Regions from separate parts of the Homo sapiens genome. Here region 2 is linked to region 1. Evidence: promoter capture Hi-C in human tissues and cell types (Jung and others, 2019). All regions are on one chromosome and are shown on one strand. Each heading gives the region's core, a stretch centred on a gene start or on the middle of the fragment in contact. The rest is flanking DNA. Distances are from core to core; before and after follow the strand shown. Region 1 holds the start of METAP1 (methionyl aminopeptidase 1). Region 2 has its middle 60 kb from the start of LINC01216.

Region 1 (5,875 bases), core at 2,555-5,054:
AAAAAAAAAAAAAAAATTAAGCATCCTAGATAAAATATTTCTACTTTCCTAAACATAAAACAGTATAACAATAAAAAGAGCTAACATTCATTAAGTTTACTAATATGCTAAGAGCTTTACATACTTTGGATTTAGTCTTCATCAAAACCCTGAGATAGGTATTATTAATAGCCCCATTTTAAAAAGATACAGCTGAAAAAGAGAGGTTATTTGCCCAAGTCACATAACTAGTAAATGATGGAGCTGTGATTCAAACACAGCAGTATACCTCTCTATTTTGATGCATTTATCCATTAATTCAAACATTTAATGGCCACCTACTGCATACAGAGCATCATACTGGGAAATGAGAACAGGGCAGTGAACAAGATAGGATCATTCATGAAGTTCACCTTCCGACTAAAAAACAGACATTCTCGGCCGGGCATGGTGGCTCACGCCTGTAATCCCAGCACTTTGGGAGGCCAAGGAGGGTGGATCACCTGAGGTCAGCAGTTCGAGACCAGCCTCAACATGGAGAAACCCCATCTCTGCTAAAAATACAAAATTAGCTGAGCGTGGTGGTGCATGCCTGTAATTCCATCTACTTGCGAGGCTGAGGCAGGAGAACTGCTTGAACCTGGGAGGCGGAGGTTGCGGTGAGTCGAGATCGCACCATTGCACTCCAGCCTGGGCAACAAAAGCGAAACTCCGTCTCAAAAAAAAAAAAAATCCTCATTTTTCTAACAGGTGAGGTAATCATAGATTGCACAAAAGGTCATAAAGGAATAAACAAGGTGGTGTGACAGAGTAACTGGGAATGCCTTACTTCTGTTAATGGTGTGATAGAAAGGCCTCTTGCAGTTTTGTTCTGTTTGTTCCCAAAGACAAGCTGGCCAGACAGCCAGGCCAGGGACCAGAGCAGTAGAAAGAAAGACCTCCTAGTGATCACAGAAGTGTTAAGGAAAATCCCTAATTTCTTCTTTTTGGTTTTTTGTTTTGTTTTGTTTTTGTTTTTTTCTTGAGACGGAGTCTTGCTCTGTTGCCCAGGATAGAGTGCAGTGGTGCAACCTCGGCTCACTGCAACCTCCACCACCCAGGTTCAAGTGATTCTTGTGTCTCAGCCTCCTGAGTAGCTGGGACTACAGGCGTGTGCCACCACGCCCAGCTAATTTTTGTATTTTTAGTAGAGACAGGGTTTTGACATGTTGCCCAGTCTGGTCTCAAACTCCTGACCTCAGGTGATCCACCCGCCTAGGCCTCCCAAAGTGCTGAGATTACAGGTGTGAGCCACCATGCCCAGCCAAGCCCATATTTCATCACAGATGTATAAAGCGCTTAGAATAAGTTACAGTGACTTGATCAAGGTCTCAAGCTGGGATTGGGGGAACAGCTGTGATTTCAGAAGACAGGTGACACTTCGGAAAGGAAAGAATGTAAACATAGCCTTTGGCTAGAGCAAGAGGCTCAGAAGAGGGGCCCTGAATGTGGGGCTGGAATCCTGAAAGCAATGAGGGATACGCATAATCAGACTGCGGGAAAAATAACTTCTGTACAAAAGGTTTTGTTTGATAGGGTTTTTTGTGGGCGTTTGTTTGCAAGGGGAGGAATTACAGTAGAGAAATAAATTAAGAGAGTATGACAACTGATTTGGTGGGAAATTTTAAAAGCTGACCATAGGAGGTGGTAACAGAAATGAAGAAAAAGAGACAGTTGGGACAGCCACTCTGGGAATATTTGAGTGCATGTCTAACAGTGATACCAGAAATATACCTGCAGAATCCAACATGTAAATACCTCCAATCCTAACACACGGAATAAACCCTAGATGTTTTGTTTTCACAAATTTGTCTAGCATTTTTCCACAAACCCCAGTGATTCACCTTCTTTCTACCTGTTTCATGAATGTGGTTTCACACTACCTTTTTAAAATCTTAACAGAAGATTGTAATACATATTAATTCAAAATGCCACCTACTTTTAAAGTTATTCTACTCAGATGGTACAACTGTCAAAAGCAAACACTGTTTCTTAATTTCAGGTCCCACACAGGCCACAACAAGATAGAATTTGGGAATTTTAAAGAATCTAAAGGACGTGTACTAGGTCTAACATGAGTAATGCTCAACATGTTAAACCTAGTACAGGTCCTTTAGATTGTTCGGTAATGCTATTTTTAGATCAAGCAACACTCCTCCACGTGCAAGTTTTTCCAAATTATACTAACAAGGTCAAGGATCATATCCTATCTAAAAACAAGACTGTATAACACAGCTAAGACCTTTTGCAATCGCTTATCTACAAATATTGTGACGTAAAGATTGTATTTATTTATATCTTTACGTTTTTATGTTTTATGTTGGAAAACACTTTTATTATTTGTATTGTGTTCATATATCTGCCTTCATTCTTATTCATATTTTTATTTATGGCAGAGTTAAATCGTACTAGAATCCTTTAAAAAATAAAGGACTTTACATTATAACAGCATTTCACGTTCCTTGGATAATCTGGGTCTCAGAAGAAGCTTGTGAAACTTACAAAGAAAGCTATAATCATCCCCTCTGTACAGTGTAACACTGGAACTCAGAAAGATTAAGTAACTTTACTAATTCAAGATCGCACAATAACTGGCAAGGGCAGGGCCCCAATCAGGCCTTCTCTTTATTCCGGCTCTCCTCCCCACAGGACGCTACCAATTTAATATTTGAATATTCATGTGCCTCTCTTCACTAAACCTGGACTGTAACTAAGAGCCATACTATTGCCGCCCAGCCCTCATCCTGGGTCTCGAAATGCAGCAGCAACACTAGTACTCTTCAGTAAACAGAAACACGAGCACACGCTTCAGTCTGGACCCCATTCAACGCTGGGTTTGCTCTACTGCACAAAACTTAAAATACACTACAGCATTCACGCCTAACCCTCAATGGAACTGTCCTTTTCACTCTGGGAAATTCAGTCACAGGTGACTCATCCCGTTAGCTTACAGTTTTGTAAATTAATAATTTTATATACCGAAAGAAAAGAATGAATTACACAGACCTCTCCCTTCCCCACCCCCAAAGTTGCTTAAGTGTCAAAGCACGGTAGTAAAGCACAAAGAAGTGGGGCTGGAGCTAGCTAGCGTTCCTCCTCTCTGCGACTCCGACGGTCCTCGGGCCACCCATCTCTCAGAGCCCGGCAGGTAGCTTCAGCCCCCCACCCCGCAGGGACCCGACGGACGGCCCGGCGCCTCCAGCGCCCAGACCCGAGCCCCGCCGGTGCTGCGGATGTGGAGGCTCGCGACGCTCGGGCTGCCCTCCTTCCCGGCGCCGCTACCTGCCTCCGGCAGCCCGCACACCTGGCGGCCCCCGCCCCAGCGCGGGGAACCGGCCCCAGAACGCGGAGGTCTAGCGCGGCCACGCGACCCCGCACAGCCCGCTTCCGCCCCAGCCCACATGGCCGCGGCGGGTGGCGCCCCCGCCCCCGCGTGAGCCCAGCGCGGTTCCCGAGGACCCAGGGACCCCAGGAGGCAGGAGGGGGCGGTGGCGACGCGGGTGGGGGGAGGAGGAAACGCGGCCGGGGGGAAGAGGAGGAGCGCGTCCCGACTCGCCGCAAGGGCGGGAGGAGCCAGCAGGGGAGAAGCGAGGAGGGGTCCCGCAGCGGCGGCATATCCGCGGGGCAGCGGGCGCCTACCTGCGAGCAGAAGTACGAGCCCTGGATGCCCAGCTTGATGCAAGTGGGACACTGGAGCTTGGCCTCACTGCTGCAGCCGTCTGTCTCGCACACCCGCGTCTCCACGGCCGCCATGCTGCCTGCCCGCTGGAAGAGCGCCTCACCGAGGAAGAGGCGGCGGCGGGAGGGAGGAACTGCCGGGCGGAGGGGAGGGGAGAGAGACCGAGTCGGGGGAGGAGCTGGGCCCGCCGCTGGCCTGGGCGCGGGAGGGGGAGGAGCCAGGGCCGGCCGGGACCACGCAGCGCGCCCCGCCCCGGCCCCGCCCCCGCCCCGCGCGCGCAGCTGGTGCCCCGCCCCGCCGGCTTCGCCCCGCCCCCCGCCGGCGGTGCCTGCGTGCCCAAGCCTCCCGGCGGCGCGCACATTGGGGCTGTAAGGGAGCTCGGCAGGGCCCCCCCATTCGGCGCCTTCGGGCGTCGGCCAGCAGAGAACGCGACCTGCCGGCGCCTGACGGTGAGGAGCCGCCCTCTCGCGGCGCACTCTCTGTGCCTACAGTCAGATAAGACAGTCGTCTTCACTGACGAACACCCAGGAGCCCTGATCATCCCCGACACCCGCAGGAGGCTAGAGAGGGCGCTGCGCTCCTCTGCGTTGGATTCCCCCGCCGCTCCTTGGAGAACAGTCCCTTGGGTTAAGTTCTGTTTCTCACTGACATTGTCGGGTCTGAGGCCTAAGGACCACCGCTCATTCACAGAAAGGAGAGCCATAGAGCTGTCAACGGGACGGTGGGCTGGGATTCACATCTGCCCTCCCTCCTGCCAGACTTTTTTTTTCCACACACCACCACCTCCCCTTCAAAACCGATAGTGCTAGTAATAGTAACACAACTGTCAGGTATTCAATACAAATAATTTTTTTGTATAATCCCAGTTGATTGCTTCAGCAGTAAATAGGGGAGAATTGTGCTGATCCTGAAATGTCAGAGTCGAAAGAAGCTGTAAAGGCCTTCCCCTGCGAACCTGTTGCTTCAATCTTTTCAGCTGTATTCCAGGTCGGTTGTGTTGTAACTCATGCTTGAGTGCCTCCTTGTCACTAGGGAAGAGCGAAAAACTAACATTTACTGATCACAAAAGGCTGTGAACTTTGTTATTGTATTTTTTTAACTTCTCCGTACTTAATACACCAGAAAAGCTCATACTACTTTTATTTTTAAGAACTTTGTTTTGGCTAGGAGCGGTGGCTGACGCCTGTAATCAATCCCAGCACTTTGAGAGGCCAGGGCATCCAGGGCACCAAGGCCAGCGGATTCTTTGAGGCCAGGAGTTCGAGACCAGGGTGGAAATATGGCAAAACCCCGTCTCTACAAAAACTAAAACTAAAAACTAAAAAATTAGCCGGGCATGGTGGCAGGCGCCTGTAGTCCCAGCTACTGAGGAGGCTGAGCTGGGAGGATCTGTTGAACCTGAGAAGTCAAGGATATGGTAAGCTATGATCCTGCCACTGCACTCCAGCCCAAACGGCAGAGCAAGACCATGTCTCAAAAAAAAAAAAACTTAGTTTTGCAATATAAGCAGTAAAAATGATGTAATAAAATCAAGTAATAGAAATGTTTACATGCATACATACATATACTTTTGTATACAAGAAAAAAATCAATAAGTATGTATGTATGTATAAAATATTTTTTAAATAAAAACTGCACCATACCATATAAAGTAATTTACTTACCTGATTTCTTCAGTTACTATGATGTCAACTTTTTGTTTGTCGTTTGGTTTTTCTTTGAGACAGCATCTCATCCTGTCAACCAGGCTGGAGTGCAGTGGTGCTCACAGTGAGAGGTGACAGCGAGGTGACAGCATGCTGGCAGCCCTCGCAGCCCTTGCTTGCTCTCGGTGCCTCCTGGCCTCAGCTCCCATTCTGGCCGTGCTTGAGGAGCCCTTCAGCCGCCGCTGCACCGTGGGAGCCCTTCTCTGGGCTGGCCGAGGCCAGAGACGGTTCCCTCAGCTTGTGGTAGGTGTGGTGGCAGAGGCACGGGTGGCAACTGCGGCTGCGTGCGTCGCTTGCGGGCCAGCTAGAGTTCCAGGTGGGCGTGGGCTTGGCGGCCCGCACTCAGAGCGGCCGGCCGGCCCCGCCGGCCTCGGGCAGTGAGGGGCTTAGCACCTGGGCCAGCAGCTGCGGAGGGTGCGCCGGGTCCCCCAGCAGTGCCGGCCCACCAGTGCTGTGCTGGATTTCTTGCCGG
Region 2 (5,968 bases), core at 1,630-4,129, 1.6 Mb before region 1:
TGTAACAAATACCTAAAAATGTGAAAGTGGCTTTGGAACTGGGTAACAGATGAAGGCTGGAAGAGTTTTTTAGGTGCATATTAGAAAAAGCCCAGATTGCCTTGGGGAAATTATTAGTAGAACTATGAATGCTAAAGGTGCCTCTGGTGAGCCTCAAATGGAAATGAGGAAGTTATTGGATACCAGAGGAAAGAAAACTGTTGTTATAGAGTGAGTGGCAAAGAACTTCGCTGTAATGTGTTCTAGTGTTTTATGGAAGCTAGAATTTATAAGTGTTGAACTAGGGTATTTAGCTAAAAAGATTTCTAGGCAAAGTATTGAAGGTGTAAAGTAATGAGGGTACTGATTTCTTCTTACAGCATATTGTAAATACAAGAGGAGAGACATAAATTGAAAACAAAATCATTAAGCAAAAAGTAATCAAAACTAAAAGACGTGGAAAATTATCACCCTATCCATATTACAAAGTTAAGCATGATCTGGACCGAACACCAAGGATGTGGCTGAATAATCATTTGATAAAAAGATTAGAGGTCTCACTCGTGGATCTAATCAGCTGTCTCAGCCAAAATGAGGAATAGAGGTGGGTTAATAACAGAAAAAACACTACCAGCTGGAACTAAAAGGGATAGAGTTGGAACAAAATGAAGAAAAGCTAATGGACTTCCTGGATTCTATAGGATGGGATAATAGAGCTATCTGGCTGCAGATAGGCATTATCCTTTAGGAAGAGGAAAGAATGACCTTGAAGACAATGTTGAGATCAGCAAGGCTGCCACTCCTACTTTAGTACTGTGTGGTGAGCTGTCTCCTCCTGGGTTTCAGAGGGCACAGCTGCTACCCAGTGCCATGGAGGCGCTGTTGTCACCTCAGTGGGCCCAATAGGTAAGGTTACTACCCTGGTGAGCCTGGAGGACAGATCGAGCTAAAGAGGATTATTCTTGGGCCTGAAAATTTGATGGAATTTGCCTTGCTAGTTTTGAGTTTGCTTGGAACTAGTGACCTCTTCCTTTTTCCTGATTTTTCCCTTTCAGAATGTGAATACTTATCTTATGCCTGTCCCACCCACTGAATTTTGGATGCAGGTAAGTTGTCTAGTTTTACAGGTTCACAGCCAGAGAGGAATTTTTTCTCAGAATAAATAATATCTGCAGTTTCATACACAAGTAATTTAGATAATATTTAGATAAGATTTGGGATTTAGCATTGATGTTGGAATGGTTTGAGACTTTTGGGCTGTTGGAATTGGCAGTGGGGGGGAGAATGTATTTTTCACGTGAGAAGGATGTTAATTGTGGAGGTCCAGAAGGTGAATGTTATGGGCTTGTGTCCCCTTTCCCAAATTCATATGTTGAAACCCTAATCTTTAATATCTTAGAGTGTGACAGTATTTAAAGATAAGATTTTCAAAGAGGTCATTAAGTTAAAATGAGAGTGTTAAGACTGGTCCTAGGAGTGTCCTTAAAAGAAGAGTAAATTTGGACACACAAAGAGATAACTGGGATGCACACACACAGAGGTAGGACCATGTGAAGACAAAGGGAGAAGGCAGCCATCTACAAGCCAAAGAGAGAGGCTGCAGAAGAAACCACACCCAACTGACACCTTGATCTTGGCTTTCCAGCCTCTAGAACTGTGAAAAAATAAAGTTCTGTTGTTTAAGCCACCCAGTCTGTGGTACTTTGTTATAACAGCCCTAGCAAATGAATTCAACTATTTGTGTAAAATAGGGGTTCTGGTTAATGAATTCTTTCCACCTGGAAATAGTAAACAACTTAAAAAATAAATAGTATTCAAAGTGTGGTCTAGTCACAACCCTTCCAATCTGCCTCAACTTTTCATATTCCTATCTTAGAATGGCCATCCTATCCTCAAGCCGCCTTAGAATTTTAATCCCTCTTCCTATTTAAATTTAAGAATTTGTCATGTGTTGCTAAAGCTATCTTTACCCTGCATCTTGTATCTGAACTTCCTTTTCAATGCAGCAGTCACACAGTACCTTTGGCAATCAATACTTCTGAAATAAAATAATGTCACAGTTTTGAAAGATTATCTGAGGTAACTCCTTCCCATGCCCTTGTAAATTAAAGAAAATTTCCTAAAGCACAATTGTAAATATATTGTTATTGTACATATAGCTCTGTATGTATTTTTGGTTAGTTATTATTGTAAATTAAAGGAGTAATAAGTGCATTTAGACAAATCTGGAAACATGAAAGTATTTAAATATGCACTACTATTCCCACAATGTAGAGTTAAGCAGTGGTAATATTTGTAGTTTTTGTTTTCCAAATTTTATTTTCTGCTTACATAGTTGTGGTCATGGTAATATAGTTGTGTACAAAGCCAATACACTTAAAATAAAGTTGCTTATAAAAGTAATACAAATTCAATGAAGAAAATTAGAAAAATATTTAAAAATCTACAAAGATGGAAAGCAAAACACTGAGAATTCTGCAAAGCTATATAACAAATACTAATATGATTTTAATGCTTTATCTAGCACTCTGACATTTTTCACATTTGAAGTGACAGATACAAATATGAATTAGCATTAAATAGAAATAGTCATAGTTTTTCAATAAAAAATATTACAGAGAGAAATGTATTAACAAATAATAGCAACCATTGGATTTTTTTTCAGCTACTACCGATTAAATAGCAAAACACATGCACAAAAATACTTAGAGTTCAATATGAATTTTCAAATGTACTGAAAATCATTACTGAGTTTTTTAGCCAGAAAAATGGGCATTGCTTTTTCCTTCAAACTGTGTTCTTAAGGAAAGAAAAAGGATCCTTTTGTTTGTAATCCCCATATTAAGTTCTAAGAATATAAATAACGAGTCTTTGAGGAGAAAATCGATCCAATAGAACAAATAATTACTTAAATGTCTTTAAATTTGGTAAATGATTCTTTGTCAACTATAGCGTAAAAGAGATTTCACCTTGGTAATAGTAAGCTGGGCAATTAGAACCAAATCCTCCTGCTGAAGATAGCTGAAAGAGCTGAAGGAAATGTTAATATGAAAGCCAAAATAAGCAAATAAAAACCCTGAAAACAAACAAAAAACTGTTGATAAGTTACATTTGGCCATCCAAAATTAAGAAAAACATGTATCCACCCTCGGCCAGGCACAGTGGCTCACGCCTGTAATCCCAGCACTTTGGGAGGCCGAGGCGGGCAGATCACCTGAGGTCAGGAGTTCAAGACCAATCTGGCCAACATAGGGAAATCCCATCTCTACAAAAATACAAAAATTAGCCGGGCATGATGGCAGGTGACTATAATCCCAGCTACTTGGGAGGCTGAGGTGGGAGAATCGCTTGAACCCGGGAGGTGGAGGTTGCAGTGAGTTGAGATCTCTCCCACTGCACTCCAGCCTGGGAAACAGAGCAAGACTGTGTCTCAGAAAAAAAAAAAAAAAAAAAATTACTCACCCCAAACCTAAGAAAAGTCAAGAAATTAGAGAGGGAAGCCAAGAGTTCAAATGTGTTTTGCCCTGAAGTTGGAAGTATCAGCTGTGAAACTCAACTATGGTTTTACTAGCTTGGTAAGCTTCTGGGGGTGTAGTGGGGTTGGGGGGGTGGGTGGAAGATATGGAGTTGGAGGGTGGGTGGGTATTGGGGGAAGCCTAGGGGTTACCAAGATAAAGATTTTGAAACACCCCTATACAACTACTCTGAGATGAGACTGTAAAGAACTATATTCTCAGAGTAAGGGCAAACCAGAAGTAAATCAATCTTTGTTCCAGGCAACTTCCATCATTTGGTTACCACAGCATAAGATTTGAACATAAGTTGATCCTGAATCGGTACCCTCCTAAAGGCCTGGAAGAAGCCACAAAGATCCTCTCTAGCAGCATGTATAATTATCCGGAACCTCAAATTATACTTCCAAATAATTTTACAAATAATTTTCTGTCAAAGCAAACAAAGCACACATGGAGAAACAAGGTATCCGCTGTGAATGAAAAACAAAAAAACAAGGAATAAAAATAAACTCACAAACACTTCTATTGAAATTATCTGACACAGAGTATAAAACAACTATGAAGGAATGATGTCAACAAGGTGGTGGAAGAGGAGTTTTCAGAGCTCATTTCCTTACAAAAACATCAATTTGAACAACTATCCACACATAAAAATACTTTCACAAAGGCTAAGTAATCCAAGTGAGAGTTTACAGCACCTGGGTGGAGCACAGAAATAAGAAAAGACACATTGAAAAGGTAGGAAGGACAGTTTCACATTACCTGTTACACCACTCCCCCACGTCCTGGCATCACAGTATGGAGAGAGATGCCCTTTGTATATGAGAAGAAGAGTGAAGTGAAGACCCAACTTCACTGCAGACCCCAGCCCCAGGCCTGTCCCAGTGAACCCTGGCACTGTGAGCATTCACAGACAGGCTCCAGTCCAGCCCCTGAGACACCAGGATCCAGGTCTGCCTCAAAAGGCAGTCTCTCTGAAACTGCATCAAAATAAAATAAAAGACCCAACTATATGCTGCCTACAAAAGATTTGCTTCAGCTTTAACAGCACACATAGGTTGAGGATGAAGGAATGGGAAAAGATATTTCATGCAAATGGAAACCAAAAGAGTACACGGGTAGCTATACTTAAGGTCTGTTTTGTCAAAAAGAGACAAAAAAGGTCATTATGTAATGATAAAGGGGTCAATTCATCAAGAGAATAGAATAATTATAAATATGCATGTGCCCAACATTGGAGTACTTAAATATATAAAATAAATATCTGAAGAAAAAAATTGCTAGTAATGCAATAATAGTAGGGGACTTCAATACCCTACTTTCAACAAAAGATTGATTATCCGGACCAAAAATTAATAAGGAAATAGGAAAGTTGAACAATACTATACACCAACTGAACCTAATGGACATAAACAGAACATTTATTCCACAACAGAAAAATATACATTTTTTTCAAGCCCACATGAAATATTTTCCAGGATAGATTATATATTAGGCCAGAAAATAAGTCTTAACAATTTTAATATGATTGAAATTTTACCAAGTATCTTTTCTGAACACAATGGTTTGAAACTTGAAATCAGTAACAGGAGAGGAAAAACAGAAAATTTACAAATATGTGGAAATTGAATAACACTTTTTTTTTTTTTTTTGAGACAAATCTTGCTCTGTTGCCCAGGCTGGAGTGCAGTGGCATGATTTCGGCTCACTGCAAGCTCCCCACCTCCCAGGTTCATGCCATTCTCCTGCCTCAGCCTCCCAAGTAGGTGGGATTACAGGCGCCCGCCACCACGCCCTGCTATTTTTTTCTATTTTTAGTGAGATGAGGTTTCACCGTGTTAGCCAGGATGGTCTCGATCTCCTGACCTCGTGATCCGCCCGCCTCGGCCTCCCAAAGTGCTGGGATTATAGGCGTGAGCCACTGTGCCCGGCCAAATAACACATTTTTAACCGTCGAAGGATAAAATAAAAAATTCAAAAGGAAATTTAGAAAATGTTGAGACAAATAAAAATATAAACACAACATACCATAACTTATGGAATGTAGAAAAAGCAATTCTAAAAGGGAAGTTTAAACAGTTACATTAAGAAAGAAGAATAATCTCATATAAGCAACTTAAGTTTACACATCAAGGAACTAGAAAAAAGAAAAAACTAAGCTCAAAGTTTTCGGAAGGAAGAAAATAATAAAGATCAGAGTAGAAACAAATGAAATAAAGTCTAGAAAATAATAGAAAGGATAAATAAAGCTAACATTTGGGTTTTTGAAAAAGTAAGGAAAATGGACAAACTTTAAACCCGACTAAGAAAAAATGAGAAAATACTCAAATAAAATTAAAAATGAAAAAGGAGGCATAACAACTAATACCACAGAAATACAAGAGGTCATAAGAGACCCTTTGAATAATTATACTCCAACAATTGAATAACATTGAAGAAAGGAATAAATTCCTTGAAACATGCAACATACCAAG

What was found. The method cuts DNA at HindIII sites, captures the fragments that hold promoters and counts their contacts. A contact is called where the count stands out against the background at its distance.
Region 2: a fragment that was not itself captured here is called in contact with the fragment with the promoter of METAP1 in region 1 in 1 of the 25 tissues and cell types used here (heart right ventricle).

What each region holds. Positions count from the first base shown.
Region 1 is chr4:98,993,650-98,999,524 of GRCh38, reverse strand. It overlaps METAP1 (methionyl aminopeptidase 1), which reads right to left and starts at 3,804. Exons shown (of 11, transcript NM_015143.3): 1 at 3,658-3,804. The coding sequence starts at 3,771. MIR3684 (microRNA 3684) reads right to left here and starts at 2,138; the gene lies at 2,065-2,138. RefSeq lists enhancers at 2,609-3,391, 4,313-4,362 and silencers at 3,133-3,592, 3,753-4,072. The HindIII fragment of the contact is 14,445 bases long and covers 1,100-5,875 here.
Region 2 is chr4:100,612,036-100,618,003 of GRCh38, reverse strand. No RefSeq gene overlaps it. Among named protein-coding and RNA genes, the nearest start is that of LINC01216, 60 kb to the left of the region's middle. The HindIII fragment of the contact is 4,379 bases long and covers 690-5,068 here.